4 separate regions of the Homo sapiens genome follow, and all the other regions are linked to region 2. The links are contacts of gene promoters, found by promoter capture Hi-C in blood cells and fetal thymus (Javierre and others, 2016). All regions are on one chromosome and are shown on one strand. The core of a region is centred on a gene start or on the middle of the fragment in contact, and the rest is flanking DNA. Distances in the headings are between cores, read along the strand shown. Region 1 overlaps MAST2 (microtubule associated serine/threonine kinase 2). Region 2 holds the start of LURAP1 (leucine rich adaptor protein 1). Region 3 overlaps P3R3URF-PIK3R3 (P3R3URF-PIK3R3 readthrough). Region 4 overlaps MAST2 (microtubule associated serine/threonine kinase 2).

Evidence for each region. The method cuts DNA at HindIII sites, captures the fragments that hold promoters and counts their contacts. A CHiCAGO score of 5 or more calls a contact.
Region 1: a contact is called between a fragment that was not itself captured here and the fragment with the promoter of LURAP1 in region 2, in 3 of 17 cell types (erythroblasts, M1 macrophages and M0 macrophages). The highest score is 6.3, in erythroblasts.
Region 3: a fragment that was not itself captured here is called in contact with the fragment with the promoter of LURAP1 in region 2 in 2 of 17 cell types (M1 macrophages and endothelial precursors); the score reaches 5.2 in M1 macrophages.
Region 4: a fragment that was not itself captured here is called in contact with the fragment with the promoter of LURAP1 in region 2 in 16 of 17 cell types (M1 macrophages, endothelial precursors, M0 macrophages and 13 more); the score reaches 10.6 in M1 macrophages.

What each region holds. Positions count from the first base shown.
Region 1 is chr1:45,948,316-45,954,131 of GRCh38, forward strand. The region is part of intron 4 of MAST2 (microtubule associated serine/threonine kinase 2); the gene reads left to right. Among named protein-coding and RNA genes, the nearest start is that of MAST2, 150 kb to the left of the region's middle. The HindIII fragment of the contact is 2,380 bases long and covers 1,933-4,312 here.
Region 2 is chr1:46,200,330-46,205,939 of GRCh38, forward strand. LURAP1 (leucine rich adaptor protein 1) reads left to right here and starts at 3,005. Exons shown (of 2, transcript NM_001013615.3): 1 at 3,005-3,295. The coding sequence starts at 3,098. It also overlaps a transcript of POMGNT1 not described here. RefSeq lists a silencer at 2,926-3,045. The HindIII fragment of the contact is 3,345 bases long and covers 2,481-5,610 here.
Region 3 is chr1:46,053,432-46,059,132 of GRCh38, forward strand. P3R3URF-PIK3R3 (P3R3URF-PIK3R3 readthrough) reads right to left here. Exons shown (of 10, transcript NM_001303427.2): 7 at 2,364-2,540. PIK3R3 (phosphoinositide-3-kinase regulatory subunit 3) reads right to left here. Exons shown (of 10, transcript NM_003629.4): 7 at 2,364-2,540. It overlaps LOC124904171 (a long non-coding RNA gene), which reads left to right. Exons shown (of 3, transcript XR_007066061.1): 3 at 389-498. Among named protein-coding and RNA genes, the nearest start is that of PIK3R3, 76 kb to the right of the region's middle. The HindIII fragment of the contact is 3,547 bases long and covers 2,450-5,701 here.
Region 4 is chr1:46,034,336-46,040,094 of GRCh38, forward strand. It overlaps MAST2 (microtubule associated serine/threonine kinase 2), which reads left to right. Exons shown (of 29, transcript NM_015112.3): 29 at 203-1,787. The coding sequence ends at 1,731. Among named protein-coding and RNA genes, the nearest start is that of PIK3R3, 95 kb to the right of the region's middle. RefSeq lists enhancers at 2,628-3,129, 2,739-2,788. The HindIII fragment of the contact is 5,954 bases long and covers 464-5,759 here.

The DNA.
Region 1 (5,816 bases), core at 1,873-4,372, 250 kb before region 2:
AATGATCATATTGCCTGAAGCAATTTATAGATTGAATGCTATTTCTATCAAACTACCAAGAGTATTCTTCACAGAACTAGAAAAATTATTTAAAAAATTATATGGAACCGGGCCGGGTGCGGTGGCTCACGCCTGTAATCCCAGCACTTTGGGAGGCCAAGGCGGGTGGATCATGAGGTCAGGAGTTCAAGACCAGCCTGGCTAATATGGTGAAACCCCATCTCTAGTAAAAATACAAAAAATTAGCTGCATGTGGTGGTGTGTGTCTGTAGTCTCAGCTACCTGGGAGGCTGAGGCAGGAGAATTGCTTGAACCTGGGAGGTGAAGATTGGAGTGGACTGAGATCATGCCACTCCATTCCAGCCTGGGCGACAGAGTGAGACTCCATCTCAAAAAAAAAAAAAAAAAAAAAAAAAAAGTCATATGGAACAAGAAAAGAGCCCAAATCGCCAAGGCAATCCTAAGCAAAGAGAACAAAGCTGACTTCAAACTATACTACAGGGCTACAGTAATTAAAACAGCATGGTGCTGGTACAAAAACAGGGACATAAACCAATAGAACAGAACAGAGAGCCTATTTTAAAAATCAGGGGTTTTAAAATCGTAGGCCACACACCTATGATAACCTGATCTTTGACAAAGCTGACAAAAACAAGCAATGGGGAAAAGACTCCCTATTCAGTAAGTGGTTCTGGGATAACTGGCTAGCCATAAGCAGAAGACTGAAGCTACATAGTACCCCTCCTTTACATCATATACAAAAATCAACTCAAGATGCGTTAAAGACTTAAACGTAAAACTATGAAAACCCTGGAAGACAACCTAAGCAGTACCATCCTGGACACAGGAATGGGCAGATTTCATGACAAAGACACCAAAAGCGATTGCAACAAAAGCAAAAATGGACAAGTTTAATTAAACTTAAGAGGTTCTGCACAACAAAAGAAACTATCAACAGAGTAAACAGACAACCTACAGAATAGGAAAAAATATTTGCAATCTGCATCTGACAAAGGTCTAATATTCAGCATCTATAAGGAACTTAAACAAATTTACAGGAGAAAAACAACCCCATTAAAAAGTGGGCAAAGGACGTGAACAGATACTTTTCAAAAGAAGGCATACATGCGACCAACAAGCATAAGAAAAAAAGCTCAATATCACCGAGCATTAGAGAACTGCAAATCAAAACCACAATGAGATCTATCATTTCACACCAGTCAGAATGGCTGTTGTTAAAAGTAAAAAAATAACAGATGCTGGCAAGGTTGTGGAGGAAAGGGAACACTTACACACTGTTGGTGGGAGTGTAATTTAGTTCAACCATTGTGGAAAGCAGTATGGTGATTCCTCAAAGAGCTAAAAGCAGAAGTACCATTTGACCCAGCAATTTCATTACTAGGTATATACCCAGAGGAATATAAATCATTCTGCCATAAAGACACATGCACACGAATGTTCATTATAGCACTATTCACATTAGCAAAGACATGGAATCAACCTAAATGCCCATTAATGATAGATGGGATAAAGAAAATGTGGTACATATATACCATGGAATGTTATGCAGCCATAAAGAACAAGATCATGTCTTTTGCGAGAACATGGATGGAGCTGGAGGCTACGATCCTAAGTAAACTAACCCAGGAACAGGAAACCAAATACCGCATGTTCTTACTTATAAGTGGGAGCTGAATGAAGATAACTCATGAACACAAAGAAGGGAAAACAACAGACATTGAGGTCTACTTGGGGGTGGAGAGAGAGAGGAGGGAGAGGAGCAGGAAAAGTAACTATTGGGTGCTAGGCTTAATATCTGGGTGATGAAACAACCTATACAACAAACCCCTGTGTCAGGAGTTTACCTATGTACCTGAATATGTACCCCTGAACCTAAAAAATAATAATAATAACAGTGGGAGCCAGCTTTGAAGCTTCCAAAAATGGGGTCAGGGAGGAGATGTGCTAGTCTCAATAACCTTGAGGGGAAAAAAGATGAGGTCTTGGCTTGTTTAGTGTAAGCAATTAGAATGGACACCCCCTACATACAATTAGGACCCTCAAAAGACTTCACCCTCAGTGCAGGAATGGACTAGGAAAACCACTGGCATGTACAGATAAAAAGAACTTTCTTAATCTCATCTGGATTTTAAATAGGGCTTTTAATAAAGGAAAGACGTCTCCCTTGAAAATTTCTACCTGTAAGCCTTCACTTAACTGAAATTGGGGGTTGGAGTTTATACTCTTTGTGTGGTCTAGAAGCTGGTTCTGGGCTGGTAATAACTCTGGCTCATCTGTCAGAAACAAACTTAACACTTCTATTAAGTGACATACCCTCAAATCAGGTATCATAGGATTCTCATAAATGCAGCTTCACTGAAGGTAAGTTTGTAGTACAAAATTACAAACCAACCAACCAATCTCCCCTAAGTGAAAATCAATAGATAAAAGAAACAGTTTGGAACTTCAGAAAGTAGCATTAGAGGGTGGGCACAGTGGCTCACAACTTTCATCTTAATACTTTGGATGGCTGAGGCGAGTGGACTGCTTGAGCCCAGGAGTTCGAAACCAGCCTGGGCAACATGGTCAAACCCTGTCTCTACAAAAAAATACGAATGTTAGCTGAGTGTGGTGGCTCATGCCTGTAATCCCAGCACTTTAGGAGGCTGAGGTGGGAGGATCGCTTGAGCCCGGGAGTTCAAGACCAGCCTGAACAACATAGTGAAGTCTCATCTCTACTAAATTTTTTTTTTTTTAATTAGCTGGGCATGGTGGTGCATGCTTGTTTTCTCAGCTACTTGGGAGGCTGAGGTGAGGATTGCTTGTGTCAGGGAGGTCAAGGCTGCAGTGAACTGTGATTGTGCCATTGCACCCTAGCCTGGATGACAGAGTGAGAACCTGTCTCAAAAAGAAAAACAAAGTAACATTAGAGATTAAGACTGTAAGATTAGTATATTTAAAATTATTAAGAATATAAAAGAAGGAGGCTGGACATGATGGCTTATGCCTGTAATCCCAGCAGTTTGGGAGGACAAGACGGGCGGATCACTTGAGCCCAGGAGTTCAAGACCATCCCAGACAATATGGTAAAACCCTGTCTCTACAAAAAATACAAAACTTAGTCAGGCATGGTAGCATGGGCCTGTGGCCCCAGCTACCCTGGAGGCTGAGGTGGGAGGATCACCTGAGCCCAGGAAATAGAGGCAACAGTGAGTGGAGATTGAGCCACTGCACTCCAACCTGGGTGACAGAGTGATCCCCTGTCTCAAAACAAACAAAAAAGAATATAAAAGAAGGAAACAGAAACAAGAGAAAAAAAGACCAAATATATTTGGACAAAAAGCTAATTAGAATTCGAGGAATAAAATATATGTATTGTGTTGTTGAAATTGAAAATGCAACAGTCGTGTTAAATAATAGAGCTGTGGACAAAGTAAAATTTTTATCAAGAGTGCAAGACAGAAATGGGAAGATATAAACTATGAATGAAAGCTAAGAAATACAGAAGATATGATCAGATGGTCCAACAGAATATGGAGAAATGGGAAGAGGCAGTATTCATAGAGATAATGACTGAGACCTTCCAGAACTGATTAGAAACAAACAAGGAACATCTTGAAGCATGGTGAGTCCCCACTATAATAAATAAAAATAAATCCCCATCTAGATACATTGCAGTACTGCAGAGCCATGAAAACAAAGAGAATATCTTAAAGAACCCTCAAGAATTCACTAAAGTAAAAGAGCTCAGCAAGAAAGTTCACTCAAGAAAATTGAAAATATATGTTCATGCAAAAACTTGTAAACAAATGTTCACAGCAGCAGCATCTATGATAACCAAAAAGTAGTAACAACCCAAATACCTTGTCATTTTATGAAAGGATTAACAATTGTGGCATGGAGAATTTATGCATGCCACAACATGCATGAAAACATGCTGAGTAAAAGAAGCCAAAGACTACATAATGTATGATTCAGTTTCTGTGAAATGTCCAGAATACGTAGAGTCCACAGAGACAGTGAATCCATAGAGACAGTACGTTGGTGGTTGGTTGTGGGGAGAATGGGATGGAGAATGACTGCTAATGGGTACAAGGTTTCTTTTTGGCAATGAAAATATTCTGGAATTAGATAGTGGCAGTGCTTGCACAGCCTTGTGAATATACTAAAAATGAATGAGTTGTACATTTTAAAAGGGTGAATTTTATATTGTTGGAAATATATCTAAAAAAATAAGTTAATGGTTAAAATAAAGCAACCAGACAGAAAAAGAAAAATTAAGTACAAAGGAACAGCACTTATGCTAAGAGTAAGCTTTTCAACAGCAATAACAGGAGCCATAAGACTACAGAATAATATTTTTAAAGTATTGAGAAAAAAGTTACTCTGAACAAGACACTAGAATTATCCATACTTGCTAAATTAGCAGTGGAAGTGAGTGACCAAAAAAAGCCATTTTCAGACCATCAAAAACCAAGAGAACAAAATCTATAGAGAAGATTTATTACTATCAGATCCTCTCTGAAATAATTACTACAGGATATATTTCAGAAACAAAGAAGAAATACATGAGATCCCAAGAGGGAATGTTAAGCAGTGAAATTAGAAAATACATGAGTAAATCTAAGCAAGCAATTATTGTATAAAATAATAATTACTAATTTGGCAATGTAAAAGTAAGATAGACCTGAAATAATAGATTGTAATAATAGGTAAGTTGAAAGGGAGTGGGAGGATTGGAGTTAAAAGCGATCTAGGATCTTTTAATTTTGTTCAGAAAGAGAGTTGAGGTGCTGGTTAACTTTAGACATTGTTGAGACAAGAACACCTATTAAACCTTGAATAATAACAACTACTTTAGGACAGAAAAAAACAAAACAATATGTAATTTCTAAACCAATAGAGCAGAGGTTAAAAAAAAAAACTTGATTAATTCAAGGAGAGTTGCCATCAGACTTGGAGGAAAACTTTACCTTAGAGCAAAGACTTTTCTCCTAGTTCCTCTGATGCCTGCTGCCCTTGCGGGGAATTCTGACTACCTGCTTCTGTGGAAATACATTCATTTGTTCAATAAACACTTGTCGAAAACCTCCTATGCCCTGTGTACTATTTCTAGGTGATTGGGATACCTCTTAGAGCTCACTCTAGAAAAGAAGAAACAGACAGTAAACATAGTTTATGTAGTATGTTAGAAGATGACAAATGCTATTGGGAAAAAAGGTAGACCAAAGGGGATTCAGGAAAACAGAAAATTGGGAAGGTGACATTAGAATAAAGCCTTGAAGGAGTGAGGGATTTTGCCATTGTGTAGTTGAAGGAAGGACATTGCAAGTAAAGGGAACAGTTAACGCTGGTCCTAGTAGCTAGAAGTGCCTGTGCAAAATTAGCAGCCTGTGGAAGGTTTTGAGCAGAGGAATGAAATAATCAGATGTGTGCTTTAAAAGAATCACTGTGGCTTGCTCATATTAAGAACAGATTAGGGTAGAAGACAAGAGTAAACCAGAGAGACTAGTTAGGAGGGTATTGAAATCCAGGTAAGCAATAAATAATATATCAATAATAATATAATGGATACGTAATAATATCTCCCTTTATTGGGGAGGGAATATGTATTTTTTTCCCACTCTCACTTCCCCATCTTAACCAGGACATCTTGGTTGTTACTCTGAAATATTATAGCATCTGGAAGTGCTTGACTGTAACCAGCTCCACATTCTTCTTTATATTGTTTACACTTACTGAAACAGAAGTGATCTTTTCCTCATTCTAAATTCTAAAAGGTGCCTGCCAAGTACTATCCAGTCACGGAGTGCTCA
Region 2 (5,610 bases), core at 1,755-4,254:
CTGAGCTCCAGGCTGCCTGATGTCCAGCAGGACATCTTCACAGGCCCCTCTAACGCAACAGCACAACTTCTGGAATCATTTCCTTTCACTCCTAGATTTCCTGTGGGTTCCCCTCCTCAGTGAACTGCACCAGGCCAAACAGCTGGGAGTCACCCTTGACTCCTTGTCTGTCTCCAGTGACCAGTCCAGGTATGTCTTGCTCACCATTGTATTCTCTACACCACACACAAAGGCTGGCACATAGTAAGCTCTCCGTAACATTTGTTGAAATCATTCATTTGTATTTTTTAACAAATTTTTATTGAATGCCACTATAAATGAATGTAACCAGTCACCTAGTCCTGTCAGTCTTACCTCCTAAAGAGCCTTCCATTCTAGTCTAATTCTTCTTTGACCTCACAATCAGCCCCAGTGCAGGCCATTTCAGTTTCTTGCTTTCCAGCCAGTCTCCTTGACTCTAGATTTTTACTCCTCCTATCCTTTTCTCCTTGCAAAATCCAGAGTGATTTTCTTTAAGGCAAATGTTGCCGGGTTCGGTGGCTCATGCCTGTAATCCCGGCACTTTGGGAGGCCAAGGCGGGTGGATCACCTGAGGCGGATGGATCCGCCTGGCCAACATGGTGAAACCCCGTCTCTACTAAAAATACAAGAATTAGCTGGGTGTTGTGGCAGGTGCCTGTAATTCCAGTTACTCAGGAGGCTGAGGCAGGAGAATGGCTTGAACCTGGGAGGCAGAAGTTGCAATGAGCCAAGATGGTGCCACTGCACTCCAGCCTGGGCAACAGAGCCGGACTCTGTCTCAAAAAAAAAAGACAAATGTTTTGTCTATCTCTAACTTAAAACCCTTCCATGGATCAAAAAGTACCAAGGAAAATGATGTTACTTAAAATTATAAAGGTAGGCCAGGCATGGTGGCTCATGCCTGTAATCCCAGCACTTTGGGAGGCTAAGGTGGGAGGATTGCTTGAGGCCAGGAGTTCGAGACCAGCCTGGGCAACATAGCGAGACTCTATCTAAATTTTAAAAAAAGTTAATTACAAAGGTAACCTTAGATGAACTAAAAAGAGTGATAGAAATATGTAGTGCCAGGCCGGGCGCAGTGGCTCACACCTGTAATCCCAGCACTTTGGGAGGCTGAGGCAGGCAGATCACGAGGTCAAGAGTTCGAGACCAGCCTGACCAACATGGTGAAACCCCCGTCTCTACTAAAAATACAAAAATTAGTCGGGCATGGTGGCACGTGCCTGTAATCCCAGCTACTCAGGAGGCTGAGGCAGGAGAATCGCTTGAACCCAGGAGGGCAGGTTGCAGTGAGTCAAGATCGTGCCACTGCACTCCAGCCTGGGCGACAGAGTGAGACTCCATCTCAAAAAAAAAAAAAAAAAGAAAAAAGAAAGAAAAGAAAAGAAATATATATTGCCAATGGGGGAAAGGAACTACAGAGTGTGAGTTAAACCCATATATCCATATTTATCTGAATAGGACAATAAACAGCAGATGAATGTTTAAAATTGAGAAGTAGTGTGGCTGGGCATGGTGGCATACTCCTGTAGTCACAGCTGCTTGGGAGGCAGGAGGATTGCTTGAGCCCAGGAGTTTGAGTCCAGCCTGGGCAATGTAGGAAGACCCTGTCTCTAAAAAAGAAAAAATAGTGGTAGGATTTACAATAAGAGGATAGTTACTCCTACCCTACCCTTTCACACCTCTAGGCCCACTCCCAATTGGCAACCACTTTTAGTTAACTCTAAACAATAACGTTATGGGTATGAACACCAAAAGAAAAAAAAAAACTAAAAGTTATTTTTTGCCAATTGGGAGTGGGCCTAGAGGTGTGAAAGGGTAGGGTAGGGGTAACTATCTTCTCATTGTAAATCCTTCTGCAACCATGGGCTGGAATTACTTGAATTAAAAGCCTAAACAAACCAGAGTTTTCATGGCTGTTCATTACCTGTTAAATAAAACCCAAACATCTCAGAACCATTTTCTGTAACCTTGTTACTCAAAGTGTGGTCCCTTATTACTTGAAGTGTGGACCAGCAGCATGGCCATCACCTGGGAGCTTATTAGAAATGCAGGATCTTGGCTGGGCGCAGTGGCTCACACCTGTAATCCCAGCACTTTGGGAGGCCAAGGCAGGCGGATCACTTGAAGTCAGGAGTTCAAGACCAGCCTGGCCAACATGGTGAAACCCTGTCTCTACTAAAAATACAAAAATATTAGCTGGGCATGGTGGCGCATGCCTGTAATCCCAGCTACTCAGGAGGCAGAGGCAGGAGAATTGCTTGAACCCAGGGAGGCAGAGGTTTGTAGTGAGCCAAGATCGCGCCACCACGCTACATCCTGGGCGACAGAGCGAGACTCTGTCTCAAAAAAAAAAAAAAAAAAAAAAAAAAAATGCAGGATCTCAAGCCCCACCCCAGATTTACAAAATCAGAACCTACATTTTAACAAGATCCGCAGATAATTCATACGCACAGTCAAGCTTAAGGAGCATCTTGCTTGTAAGCCCAACGTGGACCTCTTCAGCTTCAGTACTGGTTGCCCTTTTCTACTCCGTTAGCCTGAATTCTAGCCCCTGGGGGGGGGGGGTGGTGTGTGTGTGTGTGTGTGTGTGTGTGTGTGTGTGTGTCTAGCTAAAATCCAGTCATCGTTTTATACCCAATTCCTCTGCTCCAGGAAGACTTCCAAGCCCTCTGCAGCTCTCTGTTACCGCTGTTCCTTAAACTCCCACATCTCTGACTGAAGCTGCTTAGACTTCATTCTGCAAACATGTATTGGGCGCCTGCTGTGTGCCTGGCTGGATTCAGTGCCAGGGTGGGGCGAAGGCGCTGAGGTCTCCGAGTGCTCTTTCAGGTCCAACTCCAGAATCGCCCAGCCCCACGCAATCCAGGGCCAGAGGTTGTGTGCGCAGCACTCGAATACATCCACAGACGGTGCTGCGCGGCTTTTCTGAGTGTTACGGCGCCCTCCTCCCGCCCCCGCGCCGCGCGGGCGGGGACCCACCGGTTTTGCTCCGCTTTAGCAGCGGCGAAGGGAGGACCCCCGGGAGCCGGTCCCCGGCGTCCGGTCGCCCAGCCCTTTTCAGGCTTGGGCCCGCATGGAGGGGACCGTGGAGTCCCAGACGCCTGACCTGCGGGATGTGGAGGGTAAGGTGGGCAGGAAGACCCCTGAAGGGCTGCTCCGCGGGCTGCGAGGCGAGTGTGAGCTGGGAACCTCTGGCGCCCTGCTGCTCCCAGGGGCGTCTAGCACCGGCCACGACTTGGGGGACAAGATCATGGCGCTGAAGATGGAGCTGGTGAGTGCTGAATCCATGGGCCAAGGGGACGAGTCCCTAGTGTAGGGCCGGGAGGGACGAACTCATGCTCCCAGAGTTAAGCTGGAGAGGAGGTAGTTAAAACTCTCCACCTAACTGCTCAGAATCCCTCCCAGATCAATCCGTAAACGCTGGGGTGGAGATGGAGTGACGTCCATTACTTGTCCCCCAAGAGTGAGTGGGGTGTTGATGGTCCTGAGGACTTGGGTTGGGAGCAGTGGGTTTTGGAAGTTATTCCTGCCAAATAATTGGGAGGAGAGAGATGAGGACTGGGAAGTACTGAGAACCCAACGCAGCACAAATTCCCCCCGCCTGTATGGGCCACCTATTCCCCGCCAGTCCCCGTTGTAAGGCAACCGGTTTTTTCTCCTTCTGCTAACCGGGAAAGGGTTTAAGTTCCTGTGAGGCCGCAGTGTTCCGCACAGAAAAGAAGTGGGTAAAGGGGCCTATCTGCTGAAAACTACCTGGACCAGGGGCACTGAAAACCTTCTCCGTTTCCTCTACATCCCCCAGCCCTACTTAAAATAATGGAAAGTTCCTAGACCCATAGCAGGGACAGAGAGTAGCAGCACCACTGGTGCTGATTCCCTCGCCTCAGACTCAGTCTCCTCCCAGCCAGTCTTCCAGGTAAACTGGATATTTGGATCTCATCTGTACATTCTTGGGGAGAAGAGGAAACAGCAACCCTCCCCTTTCTCTATTGCTGCTGGTCTAGATTCAGAGCCAAAAGGGCAGCCGAGGCCCTGGCAGGTTCCCCAGGGCCCTGATTCCGGTGAAGTGGGTGATTTACACCTGCCACTACTTTGCAGCCAGTTCTGGGGAACTGAGGAATTGCCATCGGCTTCCTGGCTCACAACCAGGAGCCCACAGTGAGTACGTCAGCTAAAGTCTTCCTGTGTGCCCAGCCTGTGCCAAGCTGGTCTGTGAAGGAGAAGGGGAAGGAAATCATGGGGGCTCTGAGACCAGCCAGGGCTCCGACGCCTGAGCTGAGAGGCTGGGAAGAGAGTCTGGTGGGTGGAGCAGTCAGGAAAGGCCCCCTGGGAGAAGGACTTGAATGCCAAGTGTGCACTTGGCCTTGAAGGTTGGAGGTGAGTGCCCAATTCTCCAGAGCAAGGCTGTGACTGTACCCACCTAAGCGGGGGCTTGCCTTTGCCTCACTGTACAAACTTTAGCTCAAGGCCTAGTAAGAGCCTATCTAGACTGTCTACTTGCTTTGAAAACTTTCACCCAGTGCATGTGCCAGGCAGCTTGCTGAGCACTTTACATGATGCTCTCTTCATCTCCACAGTAACCCTGTTAAGTGATATTTTATAGATGGAGAAACTGAGGCACAGGGTGGGCATGGTGGCTCACGCCTGTAATCCCAGCACTTTGGGAGGCCGAGGCAGGCAGATCGCTTGAGCCCAGGAGTTTGAGACCAGCCTGGGCAACAAAGCAAGACCCTGTCTCTACAAAAAATACAAAAATTAGATGGGTGTTGTGGTGTGTGCCTGTAGTCCTAGCTACTCTGGAGGCAGAGGCAGGAGGATCACTTGAGCCCAGGAAGAGGAGGTTGCAGTGAGCTGAAATCGCACCACTGCACTCCAGCCTGGGTGACAGAGCTCAGAGCTAGACCCTGTCTCAAAAAAAGAAGGGGAAGAAGGGGAGGAAGGGAGGAAGGGAGGGAGGGAGGAGAAAAGAAAAGAAAACAGAGGCACAGGGAGTTTAATAACTGCCCAACATCACGCAAAAAGCAGGGCCATGATTTGAACCCAGATCATCTGACTGCACTTTGCATCTTTACTTTGAGACCTGCTTTGTGCCAGATAGTCTGAACATTTTATGTCATTGAAATGAGAAAACTGGTCATCATTTCTCCCATCTTACAGATAAAACGTGCTTGCAGATTCTGAACTCACATAGGGAGTCAGTGGAAGAGCCACGCCCAGTCTCTGGCTCTCTTCTCTGCCTTGGTGGAAACTATCTGTAAACTTTAAGGGGCTGCATTTAACTTTTGATTTTGTCTCTCTGTATTCTTGACCCAGCTTGCCTGGGGCCTGAGGCTGCCCGAGAAAGGGCACAAGGGAGGGAGCCTTCTGGGGCCAGAATGAGGAGAGATCCCCATCCTATTTTTTCTCCTTCCTCAGGCCAGGATGTTATTAATATTAATCTCTTCTTGTGCTCTGCCCTGCCTACTGGGTTGCACCCAGGAAGGACAAGGGGTGGGGCAAGGGATTTGCCTTCGGGCTACTGAAGGCAGGACTGGTTCAAGCCCTCTAAGGACTGTCCTTCAATTGTTCCTCTCCCAGCTCTCCTTG
Region 3 (5,701 bases), core at 2,973-5,472, 150 kb before region 2:
CATAGGTTGAAAATCTAACACTCAAGGTGACGGTATTAGGAGGTGAGGACTTTGGGAGGTGATTAGGTCATAAAGGCAGAGCCCTCATGAATGGAATTAGTGCCCTTATAAAAGAGGCCTGATAGAGACCCCCTAGCTCCTTCTACCAGGACATAGGTAGAAGGTGCCATCTATGAACCAGAAAGCAGATCCTCACCCCTCACCAGACACCAAATCTGCCAGTGCCTTGAGTTCGGACTTCCTAGCCTCTAGAACTGTGAGAAATTTCTGGTATTTACAAACTACCCAATTTATGATTTTTTTTATAGCAGCCTAAACAGACTAAGACACCACACTTATTCACGCCCCTTGGGATGGTATATTCCTTGTATTTCTTATTGCTTTTCAGGGCAAAGAAGGACTTCCATTCATTGTTTTGGTGTATAGCATAGCCTTTTTGAGCCTTTCTTCAGCTTCATGATGTGACCAGAACCACGTGAGCATTCCAAGAGCAGACACACCCCATTTACAGATAAGAGCACCCTCCTTGCCTTGTTTACAAAGCTCTTCAGTATGCTATATACACTTGGCTTGACTTTTGGCCACAATAGCAAACTAAAATGATCTCTTGAGAGAGCTGGTATTAAAAACTACTCAGCATGGTGTAGTTGTAATTGTTTACCCCAAGAAATATCACCTTAGGCTGGGTACAGTAGCTCATGCCTATAATCCCAGTACTTTAGGAGGCCAAGGTGGGTACATCACCTAAGGTCTGGAGCTTAAGACCAGCTTGGTCAACATGGTGAAACCCCATCTCTACTAAAAATACAAAAATTAGCTGGGCATGGTGGTGCATGCCTGTATTCCCAGCTACTCGGAAGGCTGATGTAGGATAATCACTTGAACCCAGGAGGTGGAGGTTGCAGTGGGAGCTGAGATTGTGCCATTGCACTCCAGCCTGGGTGACACAGTGAGACTCCGCCTCACAAAAAAAAAAAAAAAAAAAAAAAATCACCTTAAATCTTCCTCTACTGAAACTCTTCTGCCACAGTTCCAATCTCTAGGTGTATATTTCATCCTCTCCCTCTTTCTCACACAAAGAACCCTGAAGTCTATGGAAAACCCAGATTCAGAGGTCTCTGCTCTGTCTTCTCCTGCCAGTAGTTTGAATTGAGTGGTGTTACATGCATCAAGGTCACCCATAGATGCATTTCAAAACAGTCTATTCGTTACCCAGAACTAAGCCCAATATCCAGGATCTTCCTTTCTCATGCATTCTGTCCTATGAAGCAGTTATTTATGTTTCTAAAAATATAATTCACACATTTTATTCTGATACTATCTTTCCATTTATATTTGTATATTATCTCTATTATGCCTATATTTGGCTAAATTATATAGTTTTCCCTCATACTAAAGAATTAGGTTTCACTACTCAAATTACCTCAAGTGCCTTCTATAGATACATTTCTGTTATTTAAATAAAGAATGTCATTTTGTTTTTGTTGTTGTTTTTGAGACTCACTCTGTTGCCCAGGCTGGAGTGCAGTGGCACGATCTCGGCTCACTGCAACCTCTGCCTCCCAGGTTCAAGCGATTCTCCTACCTCAGCCTCCCAAGTAGCTGGGATTACAGGCGCCCACCACTATGCCCAGCTAATTTTTTGTATTTTTAGTACAGACAGGGTTTCACCATCTTTTTTTTTTTTTTTTTCCCAGATGGAGTCTCACTCTGTCACCCAGGCATGGAGTGCAGTGGCGTGATCTCGGCTCACTGCAACCTCCGCCTCCAGGGTTCAAGTGATTCTCCTGCCTCAGCCTCCTGAGTAGCTGGGATTACAAGAATGTGCCACCACGCCCAGCTAATTTTGTATTTTTAGTAGAAACGGAGTTTCACTATGTTGGCCAGGCTGGTGTCTCGAACTCCGGACCTCAGATGATCTGCCTACCTCGGCCTCCCAAAGTGCTGGGGTTACAGGCGTAAGCCACAGTGCCCAGCCTAGAACCTACTTCCCCTCAGAGGAAATAGAAATTCCCCACTCAGTTCTAGTATGTAAACAAAGATTCTGATTTTTATGTTTTAGGCAAACATTAATCTGTTCTTGTTAAGATATAGCATTTTACTCATGCCACAGCCAGCCTCTGAGATTTCCAAGGCATTTGTATGGATCAAGAGTCCTACATTCTGGTTTGCTCCACATATTAACTTCAGATTAACTCTGGTACCCCCTACAACTACCAAGGACACTTTCCTAAATTCTTACCATCTTACTGGCCAATTCTCAATTACAAATCTCTAATCTCTTCTTCCACCTCTAGTGTCTCTAGTGCTGGTAGTAACCTGGCACTAACGTCTCCCTCCCCATACACTCCCAGACTACTTACACAAGGTGTTGATCTCGGATCTTTCGCAGCTGGATCAGGTCAGGTTTGATGCTATTCATTTTTTTATCTATTTCTCGGTTGTCCAAAGCTTGATTCTTCAAATCCTGCTCTAGACGCATTTTGCTATCATGAATCTCACCCAGACGTGATTTCAATTTATCATAATTCATCATAATTCTGTAAAAATATTTGACATGTTAAGGCTAAAATAGAAATCAAGCAGACAGATCCTACTGGGTGAGCACGGTCCTAATATCCTTTTTTTTTTTCCCTTGAGATTGAGTCTCGCTCTGTCACCCAGGCTGGAGTGTAGTGGCATGATCTCGGCTCACTGCAACCTCCGCCTCCCGGGTTCAAGCAATTCTCCTGCCTCAGCCTCCCCAGTAGCTGGGATTACAGGCGCATGCCACCACACCCGGCTAATTTTTGTATTTTTAGTAGAGATGGGGTTTTGCCATGTTGACCAGGCTGGTCTCAAACTTCTAACCTCAGGTGATCTGCCTGCCTCAGTCTCCCAAAGTACTGGGATTACAGGCGTGAGCCATTGCACCCAGTGAGGTCCTAATATCTTAAGCGTGGTGAACATTTGTTTTTGCCTGGCCCATATCCATTCCCATTTCTGGTATTAGCACCCTGATGTTCCCTGGAGGTAAGGATTCATTCCCCCGTCTCAGATCCAGGGATGGAAACACACATGGCCCAGACTGGCCAATAAGAATATTCCACTCTATCCCATCCCTACCCTCAGGCCACAGTGACGGTTCAGGAATAGGAATAAAACTCAAACTGACCCAATGAGAGTCAATTCTAGAACATTTGCTAGAACTGTATTGTTAAAATAAATTCTCTCTTTCCACACAAATTGCTAAATTATGAATATGCAGTTCTCATCCCAGCAGCTATACTGTCACTTCACCGGCAATGCCTGCCTGAGGATAAAATCAACCCAGAGAAAAACTGAGCCAAAATACAACATGAGAGAGAATCCCAATAACCTTGTTTGGGCCCTGAATCCAGCAATGACTGAACAAGTAAAGCTATACATTTGATATTCCAGAGGTAGCATAACACAACAGTTAAGAACAATGGTTTTGCAATTAGCCTACCTACATCTGAATCTCTGCTGTCACTTGCTGTGGGGCCATGGGCAAGTTATTTAACTTCTCAGTGCCTTCATTTCCTCATCTGTTTAAAATGGTGATATGGTTTGGCTGTGCCCTCACCCAAATCTCATCTTGAATTGTACTCCCATAATTCCCACATGTTGTAGGAAGGACCCGGGAATAGATAACTGAATCATGGGGGCGGTTCCCCCATACTGTTCTCGTGGTAGTGAATAGGTCTCACAAGATCTGATGGTTTTATCAGGGGTTTCTGCTTTTGCATCTTCCTCATTCTCTCTTTGCCTGCTGCCATCCATGTAAGACGGGACTTGCTCCTCTCCTTGCCTTCCACCATGATTGTGAGGCTTCCCAAGCCACGTGGAACTGTAAGCCTAATTAAGCCTCTTCCTTTTGTAAATTGCCCTGTCTTGGGTATTTCCTTATCAGCAGCATGAAAACGGACTAATTTAGTAAATTAGTACTAGTAGAATGGGGCACTGCTGAAAAGATACCCGAAAATGGGGAAGTGACCTTAAAACTGGGTAACAGGCAGAGGTTGGAACAGTTTGGAGGGCTCAGAAGAAGACAGGAAAATGTGGGAAAGTTTGGAACTTCCTAGTGTTGAATGGCTTTGCCCAAAATGCTGATAGTCATATGGACAATAAGGTCCAGGCTGAGGTGGTCTCAGATGGAGATGAGGAACTTGTTGTGAACTGGAGCAAAGGTGACTCTTGTTACGTTTTAGCAAAGAGATTGATAGCATTTTGCCCCTGCCCTAGAGATTTGTGGAACTTTGAACTTGAGGGAGATGATTTAGGATATCTGGCGGAAGAAATTTCTAAGCAGCAAAGCATTCAAGAGGTGACGTGGGTGCTCTTAAAAGCATTCAGTTTTAAAAGAGAAACAGCATAAAAGTTTGAAAAATTTGCAGCCTGACAATGCAATAGAAAATAAAATTCCATTTTCTGAGGAGAAATTCAAGCCGGCTGCAGAAATTTGCATAAGTAACAAAAAGCCAAAAGTTAATCCCCAAGACAATGGGGGAAATGTCTTCAGGGCATGTCAGAGGTCTTCAAGGCAGCCCCTCCCATCAAGCCCTGGAGGCCTAGAGGAAAAAGGAGTTTCGTGAGCTGGGCCCAGGGTCCCTGAGCTGTGTGCAGCCTAGAGACTTGGTGCCCTGCGTCCTAGCCACTCCAGCCATGGCTGAAAGGGGCCAACATAGGGCTCAGGCCATGGATTCAGATGGTACAAGCCCCAAGTCTTGGCAGCTTCCATGTGGCATTGAGCCTGCAGGTGCACAGAAGTCAAGAATTGGGAACCTCCACCTAGATTTCAGACGTATGGAAACACCTGGATGCCCAGGCAGAAGTTTGCTGCAGGGGCGGGGCTCTCATGGAGAACCTCTGCTGGGGCAGTGTGGAAGGGAAATGCGGGGTCGAAGCCGCCACACAGAGTTCCTACTGGGGCACCGCCTAGTGGCACTGTGAGAAGAAGGCCACTGTCCTCCAGACCCCAGAATTGTAGATTCATTGACAGCTTACACCGTGTGCCTGGAAAAGCCGCAGACACTCAAGGCCACCCTGTGAAAGCAGCCAGGAGGGAGGCTGTACCCTGCAAAGCCACAGGGGCGGAGCTGCCCCAGACCATGGGAACCCATCTCTTGCGTCAGCATGTCCTGGATGTGAGACATGGAGTCAAAGGAGACCATTTTGGAGCTTTAAGATTTGACTGTCCTGCTGGATTTCAGACTTGCATGGACCCTGTAGCCCCTTTGTTCTGGCCAATTTCTTCCATTTGGAACAGGTGTATTTACCCAATGTCTGTACCCCCACTGTATCTAGGAAATAACTAGCTTGCTTTTGATTTTACAGGCTTATAGGCAGAAGAGACTTGCCTTGTCTCAGATGAGACTTTGGACTGTGGACTTTTGAGTTAATGCTGAAATGAGTTAAGACTTTGGGGGACTGTTGGGAATGCATGATTGGTTCTGAAATGTAAAGATAAAGGATTTGGGAGGGGCCAGGGGCAGAATAATATGGTTTGGCTGTGTCCCCACCCGAATCTCCTCTTGAATTGTACTCCCATAATTCCCACATGCTGTGGGAGGGACCAAGGTGAAACAACTGAATCATGGAGGCGGTTTCCCCACTACTGTTCTCATTGTAGTGAGTAAGTTTCACGAGATCTGATGGTTTTATCAGGGATTTCTGCTTTTGCATCTTCCTCATTCTCTCT
Region 4 (5,759 bases), core at 2,191-4,690, 170 kb before region 2:
TCTGACAGATCCCACTCTGAGTCTCTCATTTAGCCCACCCCCTGAAAGATCCTGTAGTCTTGGGGAGGAATTAATTGATGGGGAAGGGGGTAGCTTGGTTTCTGGGACATAACAGGGCTAAGCCCTGTCTTGCCCTTGAGTCACTTCTAACAGCTAACACTGCTCTGCTTTTGTCTGTCTGTCTGTCTGTCTCTGTACAAAGTGGGAGGGAATTCATCACAGAGCAGCTCCCCCAGCTCCAGCGTGCCCAGTTCCCCAGCCGGCTCTGGGCACACACGGCCCAGCTCCCTCCACGGTCTGGCACCCAAGCTCCAACGCCAGTACCGCTCTCCACGGCGCAAGTCAGCAGGCAGCATCCCACTGTCACCACTGGCCCACACCCCTTCTCCCCCACCCCCAACAGCTTCACCTCAGCGGTCCCCATCGCCCCTGTCTGGCCATGTAGCCCAGGCCTTTCCCACAAAGCTTCACTTGTCACCTCCCCTGGGCAGGCAACTCTCACGGCCCAAGAGTGCGGAGCCACCCCGTTCACCACTACTCAAGAGGGTGCAGTCGGCTGAGAAACTGGCAGCAGCACTTGCCGCCTCTGAGAAGAAGCTAGCCACTTCTCGCAAGCACAGCCTTGACCTGCCCCACTCTGAACTAAAGAAGGAACTGCCGCCCAGGGAAGTGAGCCCTCTGGAGGTAGTTGGAGCCAGGAGTGTGCTGTCTGGCAAGGGGGCCCTGCCAGGGAAGGGGGTGCTGCAGCCTGCTCCCTCACGGGCCCTAGGCACCCTCCGGCAGGACCGAGCCGAACGACGGGAGTCGCTGCAGAAGCAAGAAGCCATTCGTGAGGTGGACTCCTCAGAGGACGACACCGAGGAAGGGCCTGAGAACAGCCAGGGTGCACAGGAGCTGAGCTTGGCACCTCACCCAGAAGTGAGCCAGAGTGTGGCCCCTAAAGGAGCAGGAGAGAGTGGGGAAGAGGATCCTTTCCCGTCCAGAGACCCTAGGAGCCTGGGCCCAATGGTCCCAAGCCTATTGACAGGGATCACACTGGGGCCTCCCAGAATGGAAAGTCCCAGTGGTCCCCACAGGAGGCTCGGGAGCCCACAAGCCATTGAGGAGGCTGCCAGCTCCTCCTCAGCAGGCCCCAACCTAGGTCAGTCTGGAGCCACAGACCCCATCCCTCCTGAAGGTTGCTGGAAGGCCCAGCACCTCCACACCCAGGCACTAACAGCACTTTCTCCCAGCACTTCGGGACTCACCCCCACCAGCAGTTGCTCTCCTCCCAGCTCCACCTCTGGGAAGCTGAGCATGTGGTCCTGGAAATCCCTTATTGAGGGCCCAGACAGGGCATCCCCAAGCAGAAAGGCAACCATGGCAGGTGGGCTAGCCAACCTCCAGGATTTGGAAAACACAACTCCAGCCCAGCCTAAGAACCTGTCTCCCAGGGAGCAGGGGAAGACACAGCCACCTAGTGCCCCCAGACTGGCCCATCCATCTTATGAGGATCCCAGCCAGGGCTGGCTATGGGAGTCTGAGTGTGCACAAGCAGTGAAAGAGGATCCAGCCCTGAGCATCACCCAAGTGCCTGATGCCTCAGGTGACAGAAGGCAGGACGTTCCATGCCGAGGCTGCCCCCTCACCCAGAAGTCTGAGCCCAGCCTCAGGAGGGGCCAAGAACCAGGGGGCCATCAAAAGCATCGGGATTTGGCATTGGTTCCAGATGAGCTTTTAAAGCAAACATAGCAGTTGTTTGCCATTTCTTGCACTCAGACCTGTGTAATATATGCTCCTGGAAACCATCTTTATGTCTTTTGCTTGCTTGTTTTCCTTCGGTCAACCCACATGTAACTAGGTCCTGTGTTGCTGCTGGGAATATAGTGGTGAATAAAACAGTTTCCACCACCAGGGGAGGGCCACCTAACCCAGCTTGACTTCCCAAAGGCTTTGACATTTGAGCTCAAACATGAAGAATAGATGATAGGTAGTAGTTTGCTGGGTGTGGAAGAGTGGAGGTTGGCATAAGAAAGGCTGTCCAGGCAACGTTTAGCACATGCAGTATACCTGGCATAGTCAAGGAACCAAAGATAATTCAAAGTAGAAACGGGTCTGGCAAGTGAGGCAAGGGCCATGTCTAATGGTCTTCCAGGAGATTTGACTTCGTGAAGGTGATGGGGAACCAGAAAATACCATGTAGCAACTAAAATTCCTTCATAGATAAGGGCACTAAGACTTTGATGCCCATGGTAATACAGTAGCTTGGGTAGAACGGGGGTTAGAACGTAGGTCTCCCTTGGACTCCGGAACTCACATCTCTCCTAACTAGGATTGCCTCAGCCAGGAAATGAGGAGGGGAAGAAGTGAGAGAAGGCAAAGAGTTTAACTTTGGGTGCGTTTGAGATAAAAGAGAAGACAGAAGCAGCAACCAGCAGAGTCATAAAGTCTATGGGAGGAGTTTTAAAATGGACAGAGAAGTTAACGATAAATGCCGAGGTGAGGGCGAGATTAAAACAGCTGCCAGTCGTATTTAGTAACAAGCCCTTCATAATTGTAGCCAGTGAGCTCTTCCTGGGCTGTTGTAGGTAGAGGCCTCAGCACTGGAGGTGGATGGACATCGTGTGTGTAGCCCGCATTGAGTAGAACTTCATTTGATGGTAGTGTGGGAGGAAGGGGGAGGACATAAGTGGGACCAGTGCCAGGGGAGTCAGGAGGTGGCATCACAGGGCAGGCAGTGGGGCTTGGTAGAGCACCAAGGCTTTGTCTCCATAGTGATAGAGGACTTGAGAAACTGTCTTGCACTGGTTGCACTGATCGTCCCACAATCCAGTGCCTAGGTCTGAAGAAGACGTGTTAGGAGGCCTGAAGACGAAAATGCCTCTGGGCCATTGCCTGGGAAGGCTGTGGCCACCAGAGGGCGCACTGTATCCACAGTGGCAGAGCCCATTTATGCAGATATTTGGCCCCTCAGCCTTCTAGTCCTCTCCACTTCTTCATTCATTCACAGCGGACCCTGGGCTAATGTACCGGGACCTGGGCAGACAGATCACAGGTTGTGAGCTGGAGAATGGCAGGGGCATGGCTGAGGTAGCAAGTGCCCCGTGCATGTAGGGATCTGGTCAGAAGCACCATACCACAGGTGAAAAGGATGTTGGGAACTGCCCTCCTAGAGGGTTGGAAATGGGGATGGGAGGAGGAAGCAGAGATGCTAAACATCCTATACCACACTGGGCAACTGCCCCAAGTGTCAGTGGTGTTCCCCTTGAGAAACTGGTGGGATTATCCTGAGGGTAGTGAAGAGTTTCTAAAAGGTAACTTCAGGGAAGTGGTATTATCATTTGCTTTAGGAAGATCACTCGCTGCAGTATAGAGAGGCTGGAGTGGAGTGAGCGTACCACAGAGGATGTAGTGACCCATTTTGGTGGTCTGAACTAGAACAGCAACAGTGAGGAGGTAAGGAAGGAAAGGGTGGGAAGCTGGACATCTAGATTTGGGAGCCATCAGGAAGTAGAGGGCAATGAAAGCCACAGGAGATGAGGACTGTCCAGGGAACATACGCAGAATGAGGAAGAAGTCCCGAAATACTGGCACTAGCTGAGGGGGATAGAGCCAGTGAAAAGTTGAAGGTGGGGATTGAGATCCTGAATCAGGGAGAAGCCAGACCATCTAATTTTGTAATTCACCCTAAGATCAATGGAGACTTATTTAATGTTTTACATCGGTTCAGATTTGTATTTTGAAAAGATGACTGGTTGCTATAATGAGAATGGATCTGAGGGGGACAAGAATGGAAGAAGGGGGGCCTTCCAGGATGAAGGGTGCAGATGGTAGTGAAGCAGTGAAGTTAGAAGTGATGTTTTGATTGACACTTGGTGAAGGACTTTAGGTATGAAGCAGAGGGCTATCAAGGATGATGACTGACTACATTTTTGACTTATATAACCAGATGAATTGTATTTCCATTCACCGAAATAAGAAACAAGGAAGAGAACCAGGGCTAAGTAGTTCAGTGCTGCATTCCATACGCTAAATATGAAGTAGCTTCCAATAGAGGTCTGGGCAAATGAAATAAACAGATGTAATCAGCCTAGAGATGGTAGGTGGATTCATGGCTGTGGATAAAACTGCCAGGTAAAATGGCATTGAGAACTGAAGGAATCCAGGAGATGTAAAAGAACAGTCAGATGTCAGAAGAATATTAGATTAGTGAGTTGTGATAGAGTCCATGAAGGAGCTTTCCATGGACAGGATAGTTAACAGCGATGGTTATTGAAGGCATCAAGAAAAGCAGTTTCAAACAGTGGTGGAACCAGTACTGAAATATTTGAGATGGGGAAATAAGGAAATTTAAGACAGTTCTTTCCAAAGGCTTGGCTTTGAAGAGGAGAAAAGAGATAAAGGTATATGGGATGATTGAGTAGGGATTAGGGGAGTAGAATGAGAACCAACCAACCATGTTTAAGTGTCAGTGGAAATGATCCAGTTGAAGTAGAGAAAGAATTGATCTTAATCTTGGGAGATTCCTGAGGTGGAAGAAAATAGATTCCAAAATACATGTGGAAGGATTGACTTTAGTTGGAGGGGACTATTGTAATTTAACAGATGGGAGGGAGAATAGTTATGTAGATATAGATAAGGTTGTAGGTTTGGTGGTAGGAAGGTGAGGAAATTCATAGCCAATCATACTTTTTCTGACAAGTAAACAAGTTTGCTTTTTTGAGACAGAGTTTCGCTCTGTTGCCCAGGCTGGAGTGCAGTGGCACGGCCTCAGCTCACTGCAACCCCTGCATCCCAGGTTCAAGCAATTCTCATGCCTCAGCCTCCCGAGTAGCTGGGATTACAGGTGCATGCTACCACGCCCAGCTAATTTTTGTACTTTTAGTAGAGACGGGGTTTCACCACGTTGGCCAGGCTGTTCTCGAACTCCTGACCTCAGGTGATCCACCCGCCTCGGCCTCCCAAAGTGCTGGGATTACAGGCATGAGCCACCACGCCCAGCCCCAAGTAAACAAGTTTGAAGTGTCGGTGAGATACCCAGGAGCCCAGTGGAAACATCCAGCCAGCGGGTAGAGTTCAGAAGAAAGAACTGGGAAGGAGCTAGGAATTTGAGCATCCTAAACACAGAAGTGCGAACAACTCTGGGATTAGGAGAAATCCATAGTTCCTGGCAGTGGTCTTGGGATGCTGTGTAGCTAAAGTGTAGTGGGGAGAAAAGACATAGGCAAGGTCACTTAGAACAACAGGCTGTTCCCTGCCCAATCTGACTTATTTATAATTGAGTACACATGGGTGGGGCCTGAGACATGGATGAGCGCTGCAATATCCTATGCAACAAGAGGTTATCGCATGTTGGCTCATTACGTTCCCAGAATACAGGAAGCTCAACAGTGTGCCTTGGCAGGAGATGACAAGGGCCTGGGGCAATAAGAGGATAGATTATAAAGCTGGGCCCATTTCCCCCTCCCCCAGAGTAGAATGTGGAAACACTTCATTCTGGGCAGAAATATGAGAACCAATAAACAGCTTATTAGGAGTGGGCAGTGAGGTGTGGAGGAAATGGCATTCAGTTTTAATTTTCTCAGAGTCAGTATCTAAGACTTCTGTGTCTGTGTTCGGTGGACAGGACTCTGGCATCATGCCTAGTTGGAGTCAATGTCCTCCCCTAGGAAGAAAAGAGCCTCTGGCTGCCCCAGTACTAGTCTTTTGGTGCTTACTGGAGAGAAGGTTTGGAAGTTTCAAGGGCTGTTCAACACCTGAGTACTCTTCTCTCTTGACCC